3 separate regions of the Homo sapiens genome follow, and all the other regions are linked to region 3. The links are contacts of gene promoters, found by promoter capture Hi-C in blood cells and fetal thymus (Javierre and others, 2016). All regions are on one chromosome and are shown on one strand. The core of a region is centred on a gene start or on the middle of the fragment in contact, and the rest is flanking DNA. Distances in the headings are between cores, read along the strand shown. Region 1 overlaps INTS6 (integrator complex subunit 6). Region 2 overlaps INTS6 (integrator complex subunit 6). Region 3 holds the start of CKAP2 (cytoskeleton associated protein 2).

The links. Contacts are between HindIII fragments. The CHiCAGO score rates a contact against its expected background, and 5 or more counts as called.
Region 1: a fragment that was not itself captured here is called in contact with the fragment with the promoter of CKAP2 in region 3 in 1 of 17 cell types (total B cells); the score reaches 5.6 in total B cells.
Region 2: a fragment that was not itself captured here is called in contact with the fragment with the promoter of CKAP2 in region 3 in 1 of 17 cell types (non-activated CD4 T cells); the score reaches 5.6 in non-activated CD4 T cells.

What each region holds. Positions count from the first base shown.
Region 1 is chr13:51,413,218-51,416,569 of GRCh38, reverse strand. The region is part of intron 4 of INTS6 (integrator complex subunit 6); the gene reads left to right. Among named protein-coding and RNA genes, the nearest start is that of INTS6, 38 kb to the left of the region's middle. The HindIII fragment of the contact is 1,369 bases long and covers 574-1,942 here.
Region 2 is chr13:51,441,179-51,444,840 of GRCh38, reverse strand. All of the region lies in intron 3 of INTS6 (integrator complex subunit 6), which reads left to right. Among named protein-coding and RNA genes, the nearest start is that of INTS6, 10 kb to the left of the region's middle. The HindIII fragment of the contact is 387 bases long and covers 1,457-1,843 here.
Region 3 is chr13:52,453,740-52,457,363 of GRCh38, reverse strand. It overlaps CKAP2 (cytoskeleton associated protein 2), which reads right to left and starts at 1,886. Exons shown (of 9, transcript NM_018204.5): 1 at 1,738-1,886; 2 at 757-841. The coding sequence starts at 1,807. It overlaps CKAP2-DT (CKAP2 divergent transcript), which reads left to right and starts at 2,018. Exons shown (of 1, transcript NR_185890.1): 1 at 2,018-2,589. RefSeq lists enhancers at 2,186-2,265, 2,556-2,735. The HindIII fragment of the contact is 3,306 bases long and covers 1,132-3,624 here.

The DNA.
Region 1 (3,352 bases), core at 9-2,508, 1.0 Mb after region 3:
CTTAAAAAGGAATACAATTCTCTCACATAGTGCAACATGGATGAACCTTGAAAACTAAGTGAAAGCCAGACACAAAAGGCTACTTGATGCAAATTTCCATTTATATGAAGTGTCTAGAATAGGCAAATCCATAGAAACAGAAATAAGTGGTTGCCAGAGGCTTGGGATAAGGGTAGGATGCTAATGTATATAGAAGGGTTTCATTTTCAGGTGATCAAAATGTTCTGAAAGTAGACAGTGGTGATGATTGTACAACTCTGACTTCCTGGTTCAGCCACTTTAAATAGATGAATGAAACAAATAGAAGAACTTGTATCTTTACTCTCATACACCCACACTATTTTCCTCTCTGGTGCCTATCTTCTCTATTTCCTTTTGCAACAAATTTAGAGATCATTTCTGTTATCTCCTTGACTTCTCTACCTCCTTTTAAATCTATTACAGTCTGACTTTTGATTCTACCTTTGTTAATAAGATCACTAATAATGTCCTTATCTTCCAAATCCAAATTTGCTTTTTAGTTTTTCTTTCATGATGTTTTGCCAGCACTATTGAACACTGTTTTTTAAAGCTTCTCTTGACTTCTGTGTTTACACTTTCCTGGCTCTGCTTTGGCTTTTTGTTTTGTTTTAATTTCCATCCTTGACCTTAGTGTATTTGCCTGTCCCTGAGTGTTACTGGTTTAGTTTTAGATTTTCTTACACGTTTACTGACATACTCTTGGACAATTTCATTCCCGTGGCTTTATCCGTGTTCATCTGCACAGAAGTGTGTGTATTTGGCCTAAAAGGCTTGGTGACTCAACTTACTCTCAAATAGTTTGTCAAATATTAATAATTATATATTACTCTACTACTCCATTTTCATGCTGCTGGTAAAGACATACCCGAGACTGGGCAATTAATAAAAGAAAGAGGTTTAATGGACTTAAAGTTCTACATGGCTGGGGAGGCCTCACAATCCTGGTGGAAGGCAAGGAGGAGCAAGTCATGTCTTACATGGGTGGCAGCAGGCAAAGAGAGAGAGCTTGTGCAGGGAAACTTCCTGTTTTTAAAACCATCAGATCTTGTGAGACTTATTCCCTATCATGAGAACAGCATGGCAGAGACCCATCCCCATGATTTAATTACCTCCCATGGGGGTTTCTCCCACAAAATGTGGGAATTGTGGGAGTTACAATTCAAGATGAAATTTGGATGGGGACACAGCCAAACCATATCAATCACCATTATTATTATTGTTATTATATAAAAGAGAAAGAAGTAAATGTGACAAAATGTAAACTGTCTATGAATCTAGATGAATGGGACCCTGGAGCTCATAGTACAATCACTGCAACTTTTCTGTGAGATTGAAATTTTTCAAATAGAGAGATTTTTAAAGAATTTTTTTTTTAAGTGAACGGTTCTGTGCCATTTAGTACATCCTTTCCTTTAAAAAAAAAAACTCTCATACTTGTCAGGGTATTAAGTTGCTATAACAGAATGCAGTAGTTCTTTAATTGTGAGTTTCTTATATATTCTAGGATAGGCAGATCTGTTTAGTATACCTTTTTCCACTGCATCATTTCAGTTTGGATATTCTTGACTTTCGAATTGTTCTTGGAAATAATTAGAAAGAAGTAGGGATTGGGATTGTTGGACGGTGAAATCATAGGGAGAGAAAGGAAGTTGAGGAATTCAATCTTGAGTCTTAGAACTGTGTGTGTGTGTGTGTGTGTGTGTGTGTGTGTGTGTATAGAAGAACTACATACATACATATATAGAAGGAAGAAACGGAAATGAATCTATAAAGGCCTGATAGTACTTACATATTTTCTTGTTATTGTCTGTTATGTTATGAATAGGACCTGCGGCTGTATTATATTTGAGAAATAGGATTTAAGAAATACCCACTCAGTTTCACCAAAAATGTTAAAATTTTATTTGCTTTAAAAAAAGCTTTTATTAAGCTTCTTTTCCATCTACATTATCCAAGCAAATCTGAATAATTGGGACTAGAGTTGGACTAGATGTTGGAGGGACCAACTTTCTATTTATTAAATCACGGAAAGATTTAGCATTAGTTTGATTAGAATGGGTGCTTTCCTGCCCTTAACACACATACAGTGCCTCTTTGAATGCATATTTTCTGCAACAAAGAAAAACAAATTAACAAACAACTAGTTGAACCTTCAAGGATTCTGAAAAGCTTCTGGCAAGGTATATTTTTTAGGATATTGGTTCAGCTTCTCTATTGGGACAAAAATAGCTGGTTTAAAAATACAGAAGGCTTTTCCTTTCACATCAAAGATAGAACTGGTAGTAGTCAGGGAAGTGGAGTGGTTCTGCTCTAAGCTATTGTCTAGGGTTCCAGGTTTCTTCTACTTTGTTCCTCTATCTTTGCTTTTATCTGAATGGTTGATGCTGGTTTCACAGCACATCATACAACTGGATTTCAGCCTGTGGGAAGGAGTAAAGGCACACAGCTTCCTAATATAAGCATGACCTAAAACATAAATGACGTTGCAATGAGACTCCATCAACTAGAATTTGGCCACACTTAGCTGTAAGGCAGAGTGGAAACTAATCCCTGCTTGGGTGGCTGTGAGTCCAGTTAAAATTTGGGGGGTTTAATTAGTAGAAGGAAGGAGAGACTAGATGTGGACGGGCAGTTATCAGAAATTAAAGGGGTGATAAAGTAAGCTTGAAAGCTTCTTTGCTTTCTAGTGTGACAGCTTGTTCTGAGCTTATCTTGTACATTTTTGCTTCAGACCTGAAATCAGGTCAGGTTCCATGTATTAGGACGTGGTATATGGAAACCATAGCATGGGTTTTAGAAAAGGGTGCATTGCCATTGAGTTAATCATCATTTTCAGGCTTTTTCAGTACAGAGCTAGGAAATATTTTTTTCTGAAAGAGAAAATAGGTCATGAATCCATACTACTATTTGCATTTCACTTTTAAGGTAGATATTTAAAATGTTAAAGAATGTGTTTCTGTCATAAAAACCAAAGTTTGATTCCTGGTTCTGCAACTTATTAGAGGTATAATTTTTTTGCTCATTTTGAGTTTCAGTTTTCTCATCTTTACAATGGGGATAATAACTACATCTCATGGTTGTCATATGATTAAATGAGATAAGTGCTCAGAAATTTTTACTGATTTTATTATTCTCTATCACAATACAAAAAGGAGAGACCCCTAATTCTTCTTACAGGGGTTAGAGAAGACTTAGAGACACTTGTGCCATCAGGGAAGATTGAATTTTAAATGGGATATGGAGGTTTAGTGAGAAGAAATACCCAGGTAAGGGACCCAGCAGAGGCTGTGATCTGCATTTGTCAAGGCTGGTGCATAGGATTCTATTTTGA
Region 2 (3,662 bases), core at 401-2,900, 1.0 Mb after region 3:
AAAAAATTCTCCAGTCATGATCTGAAAAAAAAAAAAAAAAGAAAAATGAAAAACACTATCCTAAGGATGTTATTGCATTCTTTTTTTTTTTGGGATAGAGTTTCACTCTTGTTGCCCAGGCTGGAGTGCAATGGCGTGATCTTGGCTCACTGCAACCTCTGCCTCCCGGGTTCAAGCCATTCTCCTGCTTCAGCCTCCTGAGTAGCTGGGATTACAGGCTCCCGCCACCACCCTCGGCTAATTTTTGTATTTTTGGTAGAGACGGGGTTTCGCCATGTTGGCCAGGCTGGTCTGAAACTCCTGACCTCAGGTGATCCGCCCACCTCGGCCTCCCAAAGTGCTGGGATTTACAGGCGTGAGCCACCGCCCCTGGCCATTATTGCATTCTTAATTAGAAATTGTTCAAAACAAATCTTAAATACAAAAGTCAAAAATAGGCCGGGTGCCATGGCTCACACCTGTAATCCCAACACTTTGGGAGGCTAAAGCAGGTGGATCACTTGAGGTCAGGAGTTTGAGACCAGCCTAGACAATGTGGTGAAACCCCATCTCTACTAAAAAAAAAAAAAAAAAAAAAAAAAAAAAAAATTAGCTGGGGGGTGGTGGCATGTGCCTGTAGTCCTAGCTACTCAGGACTCCTGGAGTCCTGGTTGGAGGATTGCTTGAACCCCGGAGGTGGAGGTTGCAGTGAGCTGAGATGGTGCCACTGCACTCCAACTTGGGCAATAGGCTGTCTCAAAAAAACAAAACAAAACAAAAACAAACAAAAAACCAAATAATATATTCTACTTTAAAGAGCATTTTACTTTCTTTCGATATAGGAGAATATCGATAATTATGTATTATATACAGCTGGAAATTAAAAGATCAGGAACAAATCTAATATTTGACATCATTGGACTTATTTGTGTATTTTGAATTAAGGTCATTTGTGGTCAAAATTAGTTAAAAGGATTGTTTATTTAGTCATGTTCATGTCATAGATTTCTACAAAGAGATTATATAGTATTTTATAGCTTGAAATGTTTCTCAAATATATAAAATGATTTTTGGCCATAATAACCTTGACTCAGATTTATACTCTACAATTAAATTAGTCTTGGTGGACTTTTCTTGTTTTTTGGGGCTTTTTAATTTTAAAAATGTTTAGATACAAAGTCTCTCTGTGTTACCCAGGCTGGTCTTGAACTCCTGGGCTCAAGCAGTCTTTCCACCACGCCTTCGGAGTAGCTGGGACTGCAGGCTCTTGCCATTGTACTCAGCTTAAAAAAGTAATTTCCTTATATAAACTTTATTTTTGTTTAGTCTTACTATTAGTCTATAAAAGTTTACCATGGTTGCCAGACTTTAAACAAAATACTAAATTTTTAAAAAATTTTGTTTTGGTTTGTATTTTCTGATCTCTAACATTTTTATTGAGATGTAACTTAAATAAACAAATCTGAAGTGTGAAGCTTAGTGAATTTTAAAATATACACTCTTAAAAAAATTGAACATTTGCATCTACTGACAAGTTTTCATTAAACTTTCTGTGTTTTATTATTATTTTCATAGGGCTTTAGAATGGAAGTGATTTTAGAAGTTTACTCAATTTTCCTCATTTTGTAGGTGAAGAAAAGGCATAGAAAGGTTCAGAGGCTTAATTTCTTCACATTTATGAAATATTTTTAAAAATTGTAATTGGTGATAGAACAGTTATGGAGATTTTATTAAGGATTTGTATATTATTTAATAACATTTTATTTAAATGTATAAGCAGTGGATCTGAGTTGCTTTCTTCAGTTTTGTGTATAGTTCTGTAATGCAGTATGATTTCTTTCAGTTCTTGTTTGAAAGCTAAGCTTTTCATTTTGTCTCTGTTACATTTAGTCTTTCTTGTAACATTCTATCTAAATACTGTTTGTTACAAAATTAGCTTTAGTTGGATTCCTTCCTCCCTTTGTTTGGCAGAAAGTAAATGAATTTAGGGCAGCGGTCCCCAGCCTCTTTGGCACCAGGCTGGTTTTGTGGAAGACAGTTTTTCCATGGATTGGTAGAGGTGGTTGGGATGGTTTCAGATGAAACTTTTCCACCTCAGGTCATCAGGCGTTAGAGTCTCATAGGAGCGCATAACCTAGACCCCTTGCATGCACAGTTCACAACAGGGTTTGTGCTCCTATGAGAATCTAATGCTGCTGCTGATCTAACAGGAGGCGGAGCCCCAACGGTAATGCTCACTTGCCCACTGCTCACCTTCTGCTGTGCCACCCATTCCTGATGGGGTCCAGGGGTTGGGGACCCCGATCTAGGGGATAAACCAGGAAAGACTTCTTAGAGGTAGTAGCATCTGAAGAATAAAAGTTTACTGAGAACCCAGAACCCTTGCAGGTTAGGGGGCAATGCAGAGTGAAGATCATGATCAATGGCCAGATGCGATGGTTCATGCCTAGTAATCCCAGCACTTTGGGAGGCTGAGGTGGGTGGATCACCTGAGGTCAGATGTTCGAGACCAGCCTGGCCAACATGGTGAAACTAAAAATACAAAAATTAGCTGGGCATGGTGGCGGGCGCCTGTAATCCCAGCTACAGGCACCCTCAGGAAGCTGAGGCAGGAAAATCGCTTGAACCCAGGAGGCAAAGGTTGCAGTGAGCTGAGATTGCGCCATTGCACTCCAGCCTGGGCGACAAGAACGAAACTTCATCTCAAAAAAAAAAAAAAATCATGGTCAAAAACATAGGAGAGGCTGTCCCTGTGGCTCACACCTGTAATCCCAGCACTTTGGGAGGTTGAAGAGGGAGGATCACTAGAGGCCAGGAGTTCAAGACCAGCCTGGCCAACCTGGTAAAACTCCATCTCTGCCAAAAACACAAATATTAGCCAGGCATGGTGGTGCACGCCTGCAATCCCAGCTACTCAGGTGGCTGAGGCAGGAGAGTCACTTGAACCTAGGAGGTGGAGGTTGCTGTGAGCCAAGATTGTGCGACTGCACTCCAGCCTGGGTGACAGAGTGGGAATCTGTCTCAAAAAAAAAAAAAAGGCTGGAGGTGGGGAGGCCTGGGGACGTATGGGATAGTTGACAGGATTTTATACTGTAATTACTTTAAGGCCTAGATTCTAATAACATACATAAGTATTTAATGGCACTTTTTGGTTTTGTGCTTCATACTTTAAGTTTCTGATGTGTAGCTAGTTAATATAGAGCTATTAACCTTGTTCATTAGTCAATTTTTCCAATGTAGTATGCCAACCAGTATTAGGGTTACATTTATAACTTTTTTCCTGGAGAGTTGATGAGTTAACTACCATATTTTCATTTAACTTAAGGTAGTTTTGAAAATTTCTAAGCATTATATCTTAAGATTCAGAAAAATAAGACCAGATCCACTTATGAATTTCCATTCCACTCGTGACCTGACAAGTCGTATAACCTCTCAGCCTCACTTTCCCCATTAGACAAATAGAATGAAAAGACCTATCTTGCAGAACTGTGATAAAGATTAAGGAATGTACAACATAATTTATTATTGTAACACAACCTATTAATCATTTTTATGTATTTTCTCTTATTTGAATTTTAAAAATTGAAATTATGGGGTACTAGAGGTTTTTTTAATCTTGCTTTTTTCAGAACAAGCAGCATGGTGGTATGGAAAGAACTGCTGTATTAGAACTGGCTGTGCCT
Region 3 (3,624 bases), core at 637-3,136:
TGATGAACTCCCCCATACACTGAGTAAAAAGCTTTGCTAAATAATAGAAAGACTGACCTTTGTGTGGTGTAAACAGTAAGTTGATAATCTAGTCTATGCACATACTTTGCTTTATAATTGTTTTTTTCTCTTAGACTGTGAATTAATTTACGTAGAAAACGATAATCTAGGCCGGGCGCGGTGGCTCATCCTTGTAATCACAGCACTTTCAGAGGCTGAGGTGGGCGGATCTCAAGGTCAGGAGTCCAAGACCAGCCCGGCCAACATAGTGAAACCCGGTCTCTGTTTAAAATACAAAAATTAGCAGGGAATGGTGGCACTTGCCTGTAGTCAGTCCCAGGTATTTGGGAAGCTGAGGCAGGAGATTCACTTGAACCCAGAAGGTGGAGGCTGCAGTGAGCCAAGATCACGCTACTGCACTCCAACCTGGCAACAGAGTGAGACTCTGTCTCAAAAAAAAAAAAATTAATAAAACGATGATCTAATGCTGCACCATCCAATAAAGTAGCCACTAGCCAATGTGGCTACTGAGTGCTTGAAATGTGGATAGACCAAATGGAAATGTCCTGTAACTGTAAAATAGACACCAGATTTTAAAGACGTTGTACCACAAAAAGACGTAAAATAATATGTAAGCAGTTTTTCTAAATGTGGCTACTAGAAAATTTAAAATTACAGATATGGCTTACTTTACATTTTCATTGGACAGATCTGATACAATTTTACAGAAGTGAAAAGAAATAAACTTGACCTTACCTGGATAACATCTCATTTTCCTGCTTGTATGCAAAAAGCGTTTTTCTTCTCAACAGATGTTCCTTGAGTTTTTGTCTTCTTTGCTCTAGATAACAAAGGTAAGAGCTACAAGTCAATATTAGTTAAAACATCGATAACGGCAAATAAATCTTGTTGACTAAATGAAGAGTTTACTTCCAAAGCTGGTTCCACCTGAGGTCACATCTATATAACAGAAAATTCTCCAATTCAATATTGCCTTTGAGAAATCACCTTAGAAGAGACTGTTACCACAACAGGTCCCCAAAACCCCTCTGCATAAGAATCACATTCTCTACTCCCTGTGAAAAATCTGGAGAACATCATTTTCTACATACAGCTCCTGCTAGCCAAGCTTTAAGAAACTAAATGGTAGAAGTGAGGCACTAGACTCGAAAGTTCTAATTTACCAGAACTGGGTTAGATGAGAATTACTTTCTTCTGCTTTCCCGTGTGTAGAATAAGGGAATAACAATATTAGTTTTGAAGACCCAACCAACCCTCGGTTTCCATAAAGTCGAAGGAGAAGCTGTGAAATTGGAAATAACACATGATGCGACCCCAGCCCTGCAGAAATTCGCTAGGGACCTAAGAGGCGGAGGACCCAGCGCAGGCGCAGTCGGTCCCTGAACCTGTGCAGCCCCGCCCCCAAGCGGACCCAGGGTCTCCGACACCGACCCCGGCCTGAGGCCCGCGCGTTTCCCCTCGCCTAACGGATTCCTTCTTAGGAGGGCCCATCCCAGCCAGCAGCGACCGCACAGTAACACCACGCAGCGGTTCCTGTTTTTATGATCCGTTCCACAAGGCCAAGAATGAGGCAGGGCGAGGCCGACGCCGCGTTCAGGGATCTCACAGAGCGGGGGAGAGGTGAAGCGCGCCAGCGCGGCCCCGAGCCCCGACCGCCGGGCCCGCGCCCGCCACCGCCACCGCCACCGCCACCGCCACCGCCACCGCGGCCTTCACCTTTGAATGCGGACTGCGCCCTCTGACTCGGGGGCAGCTGCAGGTCCTGGGGCACGGCCGGTGTGCTCATCGTAGCCTCGGGTCGGGGGATGCGTCTCCGCTTTAGCGCCAAGATAGAACTTCCTCAGACCACCGCCGCCGCAGTCTGCACCGCGGCTAAGCCGTCAGACGGCGCGGCTGCCGTCTCCGCCCATTGGTTCCTGCGTGAATTGAATAAGCCAATGGGCGTAGGGAGGCGGAGCCTGGACTGCAGTTGCCGGGGCCGGTCTGGTGTCTGCCCAGTTCGGTTGGGACTGAGTCTGCAGGTTTCAAACCTAAACAGCGCTCTTCATCCTGGACGTGCGATGGGGGAGGAGTCGGCCTGCTCAGTCCCCACGACATAGCAGGACTAGGTTGACAAACAACCGAGATGGGACACATCTTGAGACCCTCACAGTCCTTGGAGGAAGGCAGACGAGAAAAAGACAAGAAAAGTGTTGATTGGCTGCCCTTCTTATTAAACATCGACGCGTTCACTGACGAGGACGTAAACACCGATCTGGCGTACCACGAGCGTGTGTATTTTCGTTTCACAAATACTGCTTCATTTTGAGCATCAATTCTGAGGTGGGACGTTATCACCACTTTTTCCACTGAGAGGTGACAGGTTCAGAGGTTGTTTGTCCACGTTTGCACAGCGTGTGAAGGGGAACTGAAATTGGGATCTACTTTCCATACCTTTATTCTAAGCAATTATCAAATGCAAAAAAGGGAGGAGAGGAGGAGAAACAGAAAAAAATGAAGATAAACCTCATCCCCTCCTCAAGGTTATATATAATTCTCCTTTGAAGATAAAATAGCATTTGTTACAGACGTTTTGTGTTTGTGTGGTTAAGTGTGCCGCCATAATCTTCGTTTTTCTCATCTAAAAATACCACCTTCATAAAACCCACACAAACACTCAATCCACATGACAGAACGAAACAAGTCAGGGCTAGAAGGTTTTAAGAGTGGCAGTGGGGAAGTGAGGGCGAGTCTGGACTGCACCTGCCTGGTTTCAAGCACTGGGTTTACATTTCTTGCCTGATCACTGCAGTAAGGCTGGACTGGACTCTTTCAGCCAGGTTTTAGGTGCTCCGGGCACACAGACGGGAGGATGTGATTTCCCCGTTTACCCTTCCCAGGTCTGAGGGCCTCCACAGCTGGCCCTCGGCTGTGGTCAGTTTTTCCCACTTCTGCCTGCTTTTTTCTTCAGACATCTTATGGTAGCGTCTTGCTAATGAGGAATTTGGTTTGAGATTTTGTGTAGTTTTTTACTTGATGAAATGTCCCAGTTTTAGTTTAACATTGTCCATCACCATCCTTAAGATATAACTTGCTGTTTAAATACGTCTGTCATTATTGTTGATTATTTACTAAAGTTTCATCAGACAGGTGGGGCAACCAGGGATTTCTATTAAGTGAGAACAAAATACAGCGTTAATAAGTGACTCAAAAACCTCCAAAACATTATGCTAAGTAAAAGAAGTAATATATGAAAAGTTACATATGGTATGATTCCATTTATATGAAAGATCTAAAATAGATACATCCATAGTGAAATAACTCAGAATAGTAGTTGCCAGAGGCTGAGGGTAGGGGGAGAATTGGGAGACAGTTTAATGGACAAGGGTTTCATTACCTTGAAGTAAGTGAAATGTTTTGGAATTAGAGGTAGTGGTTGGGTGACATTGTAAATGTATTAATGCCATTGAGTTGTTCACTTTAAAATGATTAATTTTATGTTATGTGAACCTCAATAATTTTTTATAAGTGGGCATGGTAAAAAAAGAAATTGACTCAAAGGATACCATGGAGATCTCAGTAGGCTGAGATGAATAGGAAAACCTGCCAAACTGCTAGGTTTTT